Linked DNA regions of Homo sapiens: region 1 is linked to region 2. Evidence: promoter capture Hi-C in human tissues and cell types (Jung and others, 2019). All regions are on one chromosome and are shown on one strand. The core of a region is centred on a gene start or on the middle of the fragment in contact, and the rest is flanking DNA. Distances in the headings are between cores, read along the strand shown.

Region 1 (5,524 bases), core at 2,109-4,608, 83 kb after region 2:
AATCTACTCTTAGCAATTTTGAAATAGATGTTACAGTCACCATCCTGTGCAATAGATCACTAAAGCTTATTCCTTTTGTCTAACTAAAACTTGGTACCCTTTGACCATCGCCTGCCCTTTCCCCATCCTTCAGCTCCTGGCAACCACCATTCTACTCTCTACCTCTATGAATTTACCTTTTTTATATTGCACATATAAATGAGATCATGTGGTATTTGTCTTTCTGTACCTGGCTTGTTTTTTGTTTTTTGACACAGAGTCACCCAGGCTGTCACTCTGTCACCCAGGCTGGAGTGCAGGGGCACAATCACAGCTCATTGTACCCGTAACCCCCCCAAGTTAAAGTGATTCTCCCATCTCAGCCTCCCAAATAGCTGGGACTGCAGACATGTGCCACCATACCTGTCTAATTTTTTTATAATTTGTAGAGATAGAGTTTCACCATGTTGCCCAAGCTGGTCTCAAACCAGGTCTCGAACCAGGCTGGTCTTGAACACTAATCAGGCCGGGTTTCGCCATGTCACCCAGGCTGGCGATCCACCTACCTTGTCCTCCCAAAGTGCTAGGATTACAGGCGTGAGCCACTGCACGCAGCCACGTACATATTTTTAACATACACAGGAAGAGAGGGAAGAAGGGTGAGAAGAGAAGCATTTTTAGAATTCTGTAGTGTACGTGGGAAGGAAGATGAGCTGCTACATACCACCTTTAGTGCCACACTGTATCACAGTGGTTTCCAAACCATGACCCATTGTGCCCCTCTGAGTTCCATGGAGGTGCCCGCTGGACACTGGAGGGGACCCTGAGTGGGCTGATCTCCACATTCCCACCTGGCCACAGGCTGCTTCACCCAGAAAACAGTTCTCTCCTCCTTAGATGTCAGAATTCTCTGTAAGATTTTTCTGGTAAGAAAATGATTCTGCCACTTAAAAAAACAAGTTTGAAGGCTGGGTGTGGTGGCTCACACCTGTCATCCCAGCACTTTGGGAGGCTGAGGCGGGCGGATCACTTGAGCCCAGGAGTTCGAGACCAGCCTGGCCAACATGGAGAAACCATGTCTCTACAAAAAAAAAATACAAAAATTTGCTAGATGTGGTGGCACACGTCTGTAATACCAGCTGCTGGGGAGACTGAGGCACGAGAATTGCTTGAACCTGGAAGATGGAGGTTGCAGTGAGCCATGATTGCTGCCACTGCACTGCAATCTGGGCAAGAGAGTGAGACCCTGTCTCGAAATTAAAAAAAAAAGTTTGAAAATCACACTATGCAATTAGCATGAAGTGTAAGGAAGCCCAAAAGAAAACACCTGCATTTGCTGTAGAGAAATTTTGTATGTATGCCTGTTAATTTTCAGGTAATTCATAGTAGGATTCATTAAAGCAAGTATATTAGTCTTTGTTATATGTTAGGTGTATTTTTGATTCTCAACAGGAATTCTAATTTGTTTTTCTTTTCTCTGAATACAGTGGATAAGTGGTTCCATCACCAGAAAAACTAATGAGATTTCTCTGGAATACAAGCTGATATTGCTACATCGTGTTCATCTGGATGTATTAGAAGTAAAAGTAGTAGCTTTTCAAAGCTTTAAATTTGTAGAACTCATCTAACTAAAGTAAATTCTGCTGTGACTAATCCAATATACTCAGAATGTTATCCATCTAAAGCATTTTTCATATCTCAACTAAGATAACTTTTAGCACATGCTTAAATATCAAAGCAGTTGTCATTTGGAAGTCACTTGTGAATAGATGTGCAAGGGGAGCACATATTGGATGTATATGTTACCATATGTTAGGAAATAAAATTATTTTGCTGAAACTTGGCTTAGGATATTTTTATTTTAATCTGAAGCCAACATTAAGTAGGTATGGGTATTTTTTGGTGTTTGTTTTCTGTTGATAGTCTTATAATTCAAATTTATAATTATTAGACGAAGAAATCGCTTATATTTATAGTACTCTTGATACTATGCTCTAGTACATAAGTCCTAGCATACCATTCTAAAGCAAAAGTTTTTAAATTTATATCATATTAGCAGAAAGCACAATGTTGCTCACCCTTTGAAGTTATATATTAATAGTTATTTTTTTACTTCTTCAGTCAACTAATTGGACGCTTAAGTCATTTATATTATATTCTAAGTTATCAGCTGAACAAACCAGTTTGAATGCCAGCCCATCTTCTTACTAGCTCTGTAATCTTAAGTCAGTTTACCAACCACTCAACTTCAGTTCCTTCATCTGTGAAACAGACATTATTCATGTAATGGCATGTAGTATGCATTCAGATTCTTTTTTTTTTTTTTGAAACAGGGTCTCACTGTCGCCCAGGCTGGAGTGCAGTGGTGTGATCTCGGCCCACTTCAACCTCTGCCTCCTGGGTTCAAGTGATTCTCCTGCCTCAGCCTCCCAAGTAGCTGGGAGTACAGGCATGCACCACAATGCCTGACTAATTCTGGTATTTTTAGTAGAGACGGGGTTCACCACGTTGGCCGGGCTGCTCTCGAACTCCTGTCCTCAAGTGATCCACCCACCTCAGCCTCCCAAAGTGCTGGGATTAGAGGTGTGAGCCACTGTGCCCAGCCCATTCAGATTTTTTTAATGAAAATTTTATTGAGATGAATATAGATTCACATGTAGTTCTAAAAAAGTAATTCAGAGATAATTCAAATAATTCTGTATACCTTACCCTGTTTCTCCTAAAAGTAAGATTTTGTAAAACTATAGTATAACAACCAGGACATTGACTTTGATATAATCCACCAATCATATACAGACTCCAAATCCACCAATCATATTCAGACTTCCTAGTTTCACTGTATTAATGAATATTTGTATGATGTATTCTATATAATTTATAATTCTATAGTGTAATCACCTAGGTAAGTTTATGTATCCTATAAGATATTGAACAGTTTCAACACCACAAGATCTCTCGTGTTGCCCTTTTATAATCACACCCACCTCCCCCCTGTCTTCTGCACACCACCATCCGTAACCCCTGGCAACCACTAATCTGTCCTCCATTTTTCTATGATTTTGTCATTTCAAGAATATTATATAAATGGAATCATACAGTATGTAACCTTTCAGGATTGGCTTTTCACTCAGTGTAATTCCCCGGTATTCCTTCAAGTTGCCACATATATCAATGTTTCATTCTTTTTATTCATTCCTTTTTATTGCTGAGTACTTTCCATGATATGTTTTGTTTTACCTGTTGAAGGACATCTGGGCTGATCCAGTGTTTGGCTATTACAGATACAGCTGCAATGAACATATTTGTACATGTTTTCACGTCAACATAAAACATTTTCATTTCTCTCAGATCTCTAGCAGTGTAATTGCTGAGTCACATGATAGATGCATGTTTTATTAGAAGGTACCAAATTTTCTAGAGTTATGGTCACATTTTACATTCCCAACAGCAATGTTGGAGTGATTCAATTTTTCCACATCCTTGCCAGCATTTGGTTTGCCTTTTTTTTTTTTTTTTTGAGACAGGGTCTCACTGTCACCCAGGCTGGAATGCAGTGGCACAATCTTGGCTTACTGCAACCTCCACCTCCCAGGCTCAAGCAATCCTCCTGCCTCAGTTTCCCAAGTAGCTGGGAATACAGTTGTGTGCCATAATGCCCAGCTAATTTTTGTAGAGATGAGGTTTCACCATGTTGCCCAGGCTGGTCTCGAACTCCTGGGCTCAAGTGACCCGCCCGCCTCGGCCTTCCAAAGTGCTGCTGGAATTACAAGTGTGAGCTGCCCTGCCTGGCCTACTATATTTTATTTTAGCCATTCTGTTGGGTGTGTAGTAGTATCTCATGGTAGTTTTAATTTGCATTTCTCTAATAGCTAATGATGTTAAACATCTTTTCATGTGCTTGTTTGCCACCTGTATATCCTGTTTGGTGAAATGTCTGTTCATGTCATTTACTCATTTTAAAATTGTTTAGTTTCATTTTTAATGTTAAGTTTTGGAGTCCTTCAGAGTTCAGATATTTGGTTTGCAAACATTTTTTTCCCAGTTGGCAACTTGTTCTTTCATTTTTTTCACATACTCTTTCACAGAGCAAAATCTTTTAATTTTTAAAAAGACCAACTTACCACATTTTCCTTTTATGGTCATTCTTTAGGTATCAAGTTAGAACTTTTCCTAGCCCTAGATCACAATATTTTCTCCTGTGTTTTTCTCTAAAAGTTTTATAGCTTACATTTAAGCCTATGATTCATTTTGTGTTTATTTTTATATAAGGTTTATGGTTTAGGTATGGGTTCATTTTTTCCTATGGATGTCCGGTTGCTCCAACGCCATTTTTTTGAAAGCTTATTCTTCCATTGAATTGTTTTGCACGCTTGTCAAATATCCATTGAGCATATCTGTGTGGGCCTATTTCTGGGTCCTCTGTTACATTCCATTGATCTGTATGTCTGACCGTCTGCCGATACCACACTCTCTTGATGACTATAGTTACATGGTAAGCCTTAAAATCAAATAGATTCTTCCCACTTTATTCTTCTTTGTCAAGATTGTATAACTAGGGCCTGTGCATCTTCATATGTATTTTAGAATAAGTTTTGGCTATGTCTATTGTCTATGCCTGTAAAAAATCGTACTGGGATTTTAGTAGGCATTGCATTAAATCTATAGATCAATTCTAGTCATGTGTTTAGACATCTCCTAATGTGTTTCTGTTACTAATTTCTAGTTTGGCTCCATTGTGGTCAGAGAACATGCTGTCATTTTGATTCTTTTATTGAGGTTGTTTGATGGTCTGTCCAGAGTGTTTCATGGGTGCGTGTGTTTTGTTATTGTTGGGTGGAGTGTTCTGTTTATGTCAGTGAGATCCTGTTGGTTTATGTATTGTTCTGATCTTCTATACCCTTGCTGATTTTCTCTCTAGTAGTTCTATCAATTACTGAAATGGAGGTTTTGAATTCCCTGATTATAACCATAGAGGCCTTTGAACTTTTAGCTCTATCAGTTTTTGTTTAATGTATTTTGAGGCTCTGTTGTTTGGTGAGTACATTTTAGGATCCTATATATTCTGGTGGATTGAACTTTCTGTTATTACATATGTCCCTGTTTGTCACTAGTAATTTTCTTTGCTCTGAAGTCTACTTTATCAGATATTAATATAGCTACTCCTGCATTTTTAAAAAATAACTAATGTTTGTATGGTATATTTTGTTCTATTCTTTTACTTTCAACCTATTTATGTTGAATTTGAAGTGAGTTTCTTATAAGCAGCATAAAGATGTCTTTATTTTTATTTTTATTTTTTAATCCACACTGCCTCCTTTGCCCTAGAAGTACTCACAGCGGCGGGAGACTTCTGGCCTTTTCCTGAGCAGTGCTTCCTTTTAGTCCAACATCTCAGTAAAGCTGCAGAGGTCGCCACTGCACTCTGAGCTTTGCAATGCCTCCCAAAGACCACAAGAAGAAGAAAGATGCCAGAAAGTCAACCAAGAAAAAGACCCAGTGAACAGATCTGGGGCCAAGGCTGAAAAGAAGTAGTCCAAAGGCAAAG
Region 2 (5,925 bases), core at 1,257-3,756:
TAGAATGATGTGGCTGCTGAGGAAAGAAGGAAGGAAAGGGAAGAAAGCGAAAAAGTGAGACTGCATTATTCAAAGTCTAGTGCCCCGGCTGGGCATGGTGGCTCAAGCCTGTAATCCCAGCACTTTGGGAGGCCATGGCAGGTGGATCACATGAGGTCAGGAGTTCAAGACCAGCCTGGCCAACATGGTGAAACCCCGTCTCTACTAAAAATACGAAAAAATTCGCTGGTTGCGGTGGTGGATGCCTGTAATCCCAGCTCCTAGGGAGGCTGAGGCAGGAGAATCACTTGAACCTGGGAGGCAGAGGTTGCAGTGAGCTGAGATTGTGCCACTACACTCCAGCCTGGGTGACAGAGTAAGACCTTATCAAAAAAAAAAAAAAAAAAAAAAAACTCTATTGCCCCTGTAATTGTAGCTCATATTTATTGAGTACCTACATGTTGTCAGGGCTTTACATATATTAACTCATTTAATTCTCATAACCCTACATGGTAGGTACTATTATCCCTATTTTGTAGATGAGAGGAAACTCAGGCACAAAGACATATAAATTTCCCAAAGCGCACCAACTCTAAATGGCAGTGCTGGGCTATACAGACTTTACAGCACAGTGCCTCAAACTCTGCATTGCTCAAGGGGGCTTAATATGACCTGACATACTTCTGGGTTTTATCAGAGGGACTTCAAGAAATGTGAGCACTTCTACAGGGAGGTGGACTCAAGATAGTGATAAGATGAATAATATTTCTTGCGTACTGTCTATATGCAAAGCACTGTTTCACATGCTTTGTATATAGTAACTGCTTTAATCTTCACAACTATAGGAGATAGGTGCCATTATTATGCCCATTTTACAGATGAAGAGACTGAGGCAAGTCACAGAAAGAAAAAAGCCCAGTGAAATTCTTGTGTTTCTCCAGTAGAACAGCAGCGTTGAAGGAGCAACTTCCCTCCCACTTGACCTCTGAAGGGCTGCCCTAGGGGAAGAGAGAGGGACATGATGGCAGAGGTACCCATTGCTGGGGATACTTCTTGCTGGGGATTAGGGTCAGGATGCCCGCTCTGGGTCAGGGTTAGACTCAGTGACCCCTAAGGACCTTCTAGCTGTGAGACTCTGCCCACTGCTCTGGACAGAGGAGGAACTAGGGAAAGAAGTGAGACTAGGAAGAATCTTGATGCCAACTGTTTCCCCAGTGTCCAGTGAGCAAACTCCTGACTCCTAAAAGAGGAAGGAATAGACCATTCACTTTCTTTCATCTGCCTAGAACATGGGATCTTTTTTTAAAAAAATAGTTGGGTACATAGTAGGTGTATATATTTATGGGGTACATGAGGTGTTTTGATACAGGCATGTAATGTGAAATAAGCACATCATGGAGAATGGGGTATCCATCCCTTCAGGCACTAATCCTTTGAGTTACAAACAATCCAATTATACTTTTTAAGCTATTTAAAAATATACAATTAAGTTATTATGGACTATAGTCACCCTATTGTGCTGTCAAACAATAGGTCTTATTCATTCTTTCTAGCTATTTTTTTGTACCCATTAACCATCCCTATCCTCCCACTACCCTTCCCTGCTTCTGGTAACCACATGCTTCTACTATGTCCATGAGTTCAACTGTTTTGATTTTTAGATCTCACAAATAAGTAAGAACATGTGACGTTTGCTTCCTGTGCCTGGCTTATTTCATTTAATATAATGATTTCCAGTTCCATCCATGTTGTTGCAAATGACTGGATCTCATTCTTTTTTATGGCTGAATAGTACTCCATTTACATATATGTACCATATTTTCTTTATCCGTTCATCTGTTGATGGACACTTAGGTTGCTTCCAAATCTTAGCTATTGTAAACAGTGCTGCAAGAAAAACACAGGAGTGCAGATAGAACCTGGGATCTTTATTCATGTGGCGAAAATTTATGGTGGTGCCTGCTGGGTGCCTGACAGGGGCTGGAGATGAGTATTCTCCAATTCAGCTCAAGGAACCATTTGTTGAGCATCTACTATGGGCTGGGCTGAAACTTTGGTATCACATTTACTCCCCTCAAAATCATTTTACAAATGCAGAAACACACTCAGGCACAGGTATTATTATAAGAAACTTTTCCAAGGGTACCACCCGGTGAATGCCTGAACTGGTTAATTTCAAAGCCGTGGTCACCTAGCAGAACTTGTCCCCATTCTCCTGGGAGAGCCGGGAGCTGGTGGGGCTCCCCCCTGCCTCCCTCCCGAAGCCCTCCTGTTTTCACAGCTACCTCTCATCCCCTTCTCAGGAAGGCCCAGAGTGCTGGACCCCAGGCTAGGGTGGGCAAGGATGAGGAGTGGGGACAGAGGCTGGCATATGAGGCACGGGAGAGAGGTGGGGAATTACGGGACGCCGCTGCCAGGGCTGCAGTGGGAGGAGGGGTGTGTCCCCTACTTCGGAGGGGCGCTCGGGCTCTGTGGAGAGAGCGCCATGCGGGAGGCGGGCCCGGGGCGCCCTCGCTCGGCGGGCACAGGTGCGCGGGTGCCATGACGACTGCGCCTCACGAGCCCCCTCCTTCCCCTGGTCGGGAGGCGAGGGGCGGCGGGCGGCTGAGCCCTGCGGGCAGCAGCGCTGCGCGGGAGCCAGTCAGCCCGAGGGGAGGGAAACCGGCCAGGGCCCGGGGCCTGGGAGCGCACGCCCCCTGCTCACCTCTGCCCGGACCGACCGGACCTGCGGAGCGCGGAGGCAGGGGCGCAGCCCGCAACCAAGTGCCCGGAGACCGTCCCTCTGCCCGCTGGCCCGAAGGGGCCCGCTGCCTCCCGCCATCGGAGACCGCCGGAGCCCGCAACTGGGGGCATCATGGAGGGTGAGTGGTCCTGGGGCTGGGGGCCAGCCGTGGGGCAGGGTACCGACTCCGGGGCATGGGGCGAAGGGAGAGGAGAGGGCCGGGCAGCTGATCACCCATGGCTGTCCAGAGCCAGACGTTGTGACACTCTGTGTGTGACAGAGACAGAGACACTGAGTGAGGGAGAGAGACCTGGGGTGCCCATGTGTTCATGGTGTGTGTGTGTGTGCGTGTGTATGTGAGACAGAAAAACAGACAGACAGAAAGAGACAGATGGAGAGAAAGACCTGGGGGTGCTCTGTATTCATGTTGTGCCTGTGTGTGTGAAAGAGAGAGAGAGAGAGAGACAGAGACAGAGACATAGAGACAGACACTGAGAGAGGGAGACAGAGACAGGCAGAGAAACACTTGGGGGTGCCTCTGTATTCATGTTGTGCTTGTGTGTGTGTGTGAGAGAGAGAGAGAGAGTGAGAGAGAGAGAGAAAGACCTGGGGTGCCTCTGTATTTGTGTTGTACATATGTGTGTGCATGTACAAGACACACACACACACACACACAAAAAGAGAGAGTCCCTGTTGTGTGTGTGCACGCACACAATCCCTGCTGTCTGAGCAGAGAATCATTTGAGACCAGGTGAGGACAGCTTGGCTATTAGCTTCAGAAGAATTGTCACCGACTTTGTCTGCTTGAAGGGGTGGGGTTGTTGGGGAGATGGGATTCTAGAGGTGATATCCTCCATGTAGAGAGAATTTCTCTCCCTAAGGAAAGGAGAGTGAACTATGGACCTTACCTTCAGGATTTTAAGGGATAGCGGACCAAGGCATAAGGCTGCTTGCTCCCACTTTACCAGAACCCTCTCTCAGCCATTGTGGACAAGGGGAACCATATTTAGGCTAAGAAACTGGAAAACCAAGGGCTCGTCCACTGTCTTGCTGGGTGTCTTTGAGATAGTGCCTAAACCTTTCTGTGCCACTGGTCACCCATCTATCGAATGGGGGAACTTAACATTCAGCTGGCTTCAGAGAGTGTCTGTGAGGATAAAATAAGATATGTTGTACAACACGCCAGTATGAGGCAGCTGTGGCAAGAGGTAATAAAACCCCAAAATTCCAATTAGTAATTGCAAACACTGCTGTTAAAAAATAAAATCAAGTTTTATAGAAAATCTTGTGAGGCTGCACTTGTAGTTTTCCAATGAGCCAGGGTATGAAAAGCACACACACAAAAGAGGCAAGAAGGAATCAATAACCCAAGAGGAATCTGGAAGATTGGCAGATCTGTAAGAATGGCGTTAGCAAAGCCCTGAAGCTCCAGTGAACAGAAGTCGGGGGAAATTGGCAAAGACAAGAGCAAAAAGCTTTCAAAGTCTAAGAATAACAAGAAGGAATCTGCTCTGGCTTAGGCTCGAGGGCAGGCAGAGCAAGATACAGGCAATTTTACTTCAAATTGTGGAATAAAGAGGATAAGGAGGAAATAGAGACCCAAGATAGTCAAGCGATAGGAAGAAGACATCAAGTTACCTACAATGAGCTCACTCATTGAAGCCCAGACATATGACATCCCAGCGACCCAGAGGTATTTACAGATATAATCATTGCTTTTGAGGAAACTACAGAGAATGAAGGAAGTGCCAGAAAACTGAAGATGGGCAAATGTCCTGATTTTCAAAAAAGGGAAATATAAATTTTTTATCTAAAAAGCCTCTACACTGCTAAGATTAGTTTTGACCTCTATTAAAATTCCAGAAGAAATGACCAAACACAGTGTACACTTAGGAGACAACAACGCACTCCCTCAGCTCAGAATTTTTTCAAATTCTGAGCTGCACACTTGCAAAGATGTGTGCCTGAGCATGTTCATCACAGTGCAAAATTGGAAACCATCCAGATAGCCATAAATTATGTAAATTAAATAAAAAATGAGACACTTCTGCAATGGCATACTATGCAGACATTAAAAACTGTGCTTAGGATTTTCTTTATTGACATGGAAATATGTTCACTACCCACTGTGAGTAATTAGAAAAAAAAACAGGTTTTTGAATGCATGTGTAGTGTGATCCCCTTTATGCAAAATTACATAGGTTTATTATTGGAAATATACATATACAAGTGTATACGCAAAGAGGTAGTCACTAACATCTTTGTTTGATTCTCCTGCTTCTGAAAGCAGACCCTAAGACAAGAGCTTGGATATAGGGAGTCTATTTGGGAGATGATGCCGGGCAGTGGAAGTGAGGGAATGAGGAGAGTGAGATGAAGAAGGGAGAAAAGGCAAGAAATGGGTGCCTTAATGAGCTGGTTTTAGCTGTGGGCAACTGGGGGGTTCTATCCTGCTGGGGACACTCTGAGAAAAGTGCAGGGTGAACCCGAGGTTTACCCCACCTAAGAGGTGGCGTTGGCTGCTTCACCTCCCCACTGGTCTGGTATTGCCCCACTCCTGCAGTTTTGGGTTGTCCCTTTTTGTGACTTCAGAGGAAGCAGAGCAGAGAGACTCCCAGGTGCAGACCTGGTGGGGTGCTAAAAATTTGAGGAACCATTCACCCCAGCTGAAATCTTTGGGCCAATGGGATGTGGCAGGCAGAGAGCATCACAAACATAGGGGTTATCTCTGGATGTGAGGGTTCTGTCAGGTTTACTCTCTCTTTTGCGGTGCTCAGAATTCTTTGTTGTTGTTGTTGTTGTTGTTTGAGACGGAGTCTCGCCCTGTTGCCCAGGCTGGAGTGCAGTGGCGTGTTCTCGGCTCACTGCCACCTCTGTCTCCCAGGTTCAAGCAATTTTGTTGCCTCAACCTCCTGAGTAGCTGGGATTACAGGCATGTGCCATCATGCCTGGCTAATTTTTGTGTTTTTAGTAGAGACAGGGTTTCACCATGTTGGCCAGGCTGGTCTTGAACTCCTGACCTCGTGATCTGCCCGCCTCGGCCCTTCAAAGTGCTGGGATTACAGGTGTGAGCCACTACGCCCAGCCTAGAATTCTTTTATAATAAGCACAACAAAACAAAAAAGCGTTTTCAAAAAGAAAGAAAATAATGTATTGTTCATTAGGAGCCTATATTAGTACTCACTAAGAACAAATCCAGGAGCTCAAACAACTCAACAGCAAGA

What was found. Contacts are between HindIII fragments. The study calls those that stand out against the background at their distance.
Region 1: a contact is called between a fragment that was not itself captured here and the fragment with the promoter of NPFFR1 in region 2, in 6 of the 25 tissues and cell types used here (IMR-90 fibroblasts, hippocampus, lymphoblastoid cells and 3 more).

Annotation. Positions count from the first base shown.
Region 1 is chr10:70,199,129-70,204,652 of GRCh38, reverse strand. PPA1 (inorganic pyrophosphatase 1) reads left to right here. Exons shown (of 11, transcript NM_021129.4): 11 at 1,467-1,818. The coding sequence ends at 1,498. It also overlaps the pseudogene RPS25P9. Among named protein-coding and RNA genes, the nearest start is that of SAR1A, 31 kb to the right of the region's middle. The HindIII fragment of the contact is 5,068 bases long and covers 825-5,524 here.
Region 2 is chr10:70,280,585-70,286,509 of GRCh38, reverse strand. It overlaps NPFFR1 (neuropeptide FF receptor 1), which reads left to right and starts at 2,506. Exons shown (of 4, transcript NM_022146.5): 1 at 2,506-2,840. The coding sequence starts at 2,834. RefSeq lists an enhancer at 2,798-3,299. The HindIII fragment of the contact is 15,240 bases long and covers 1-5,925 here.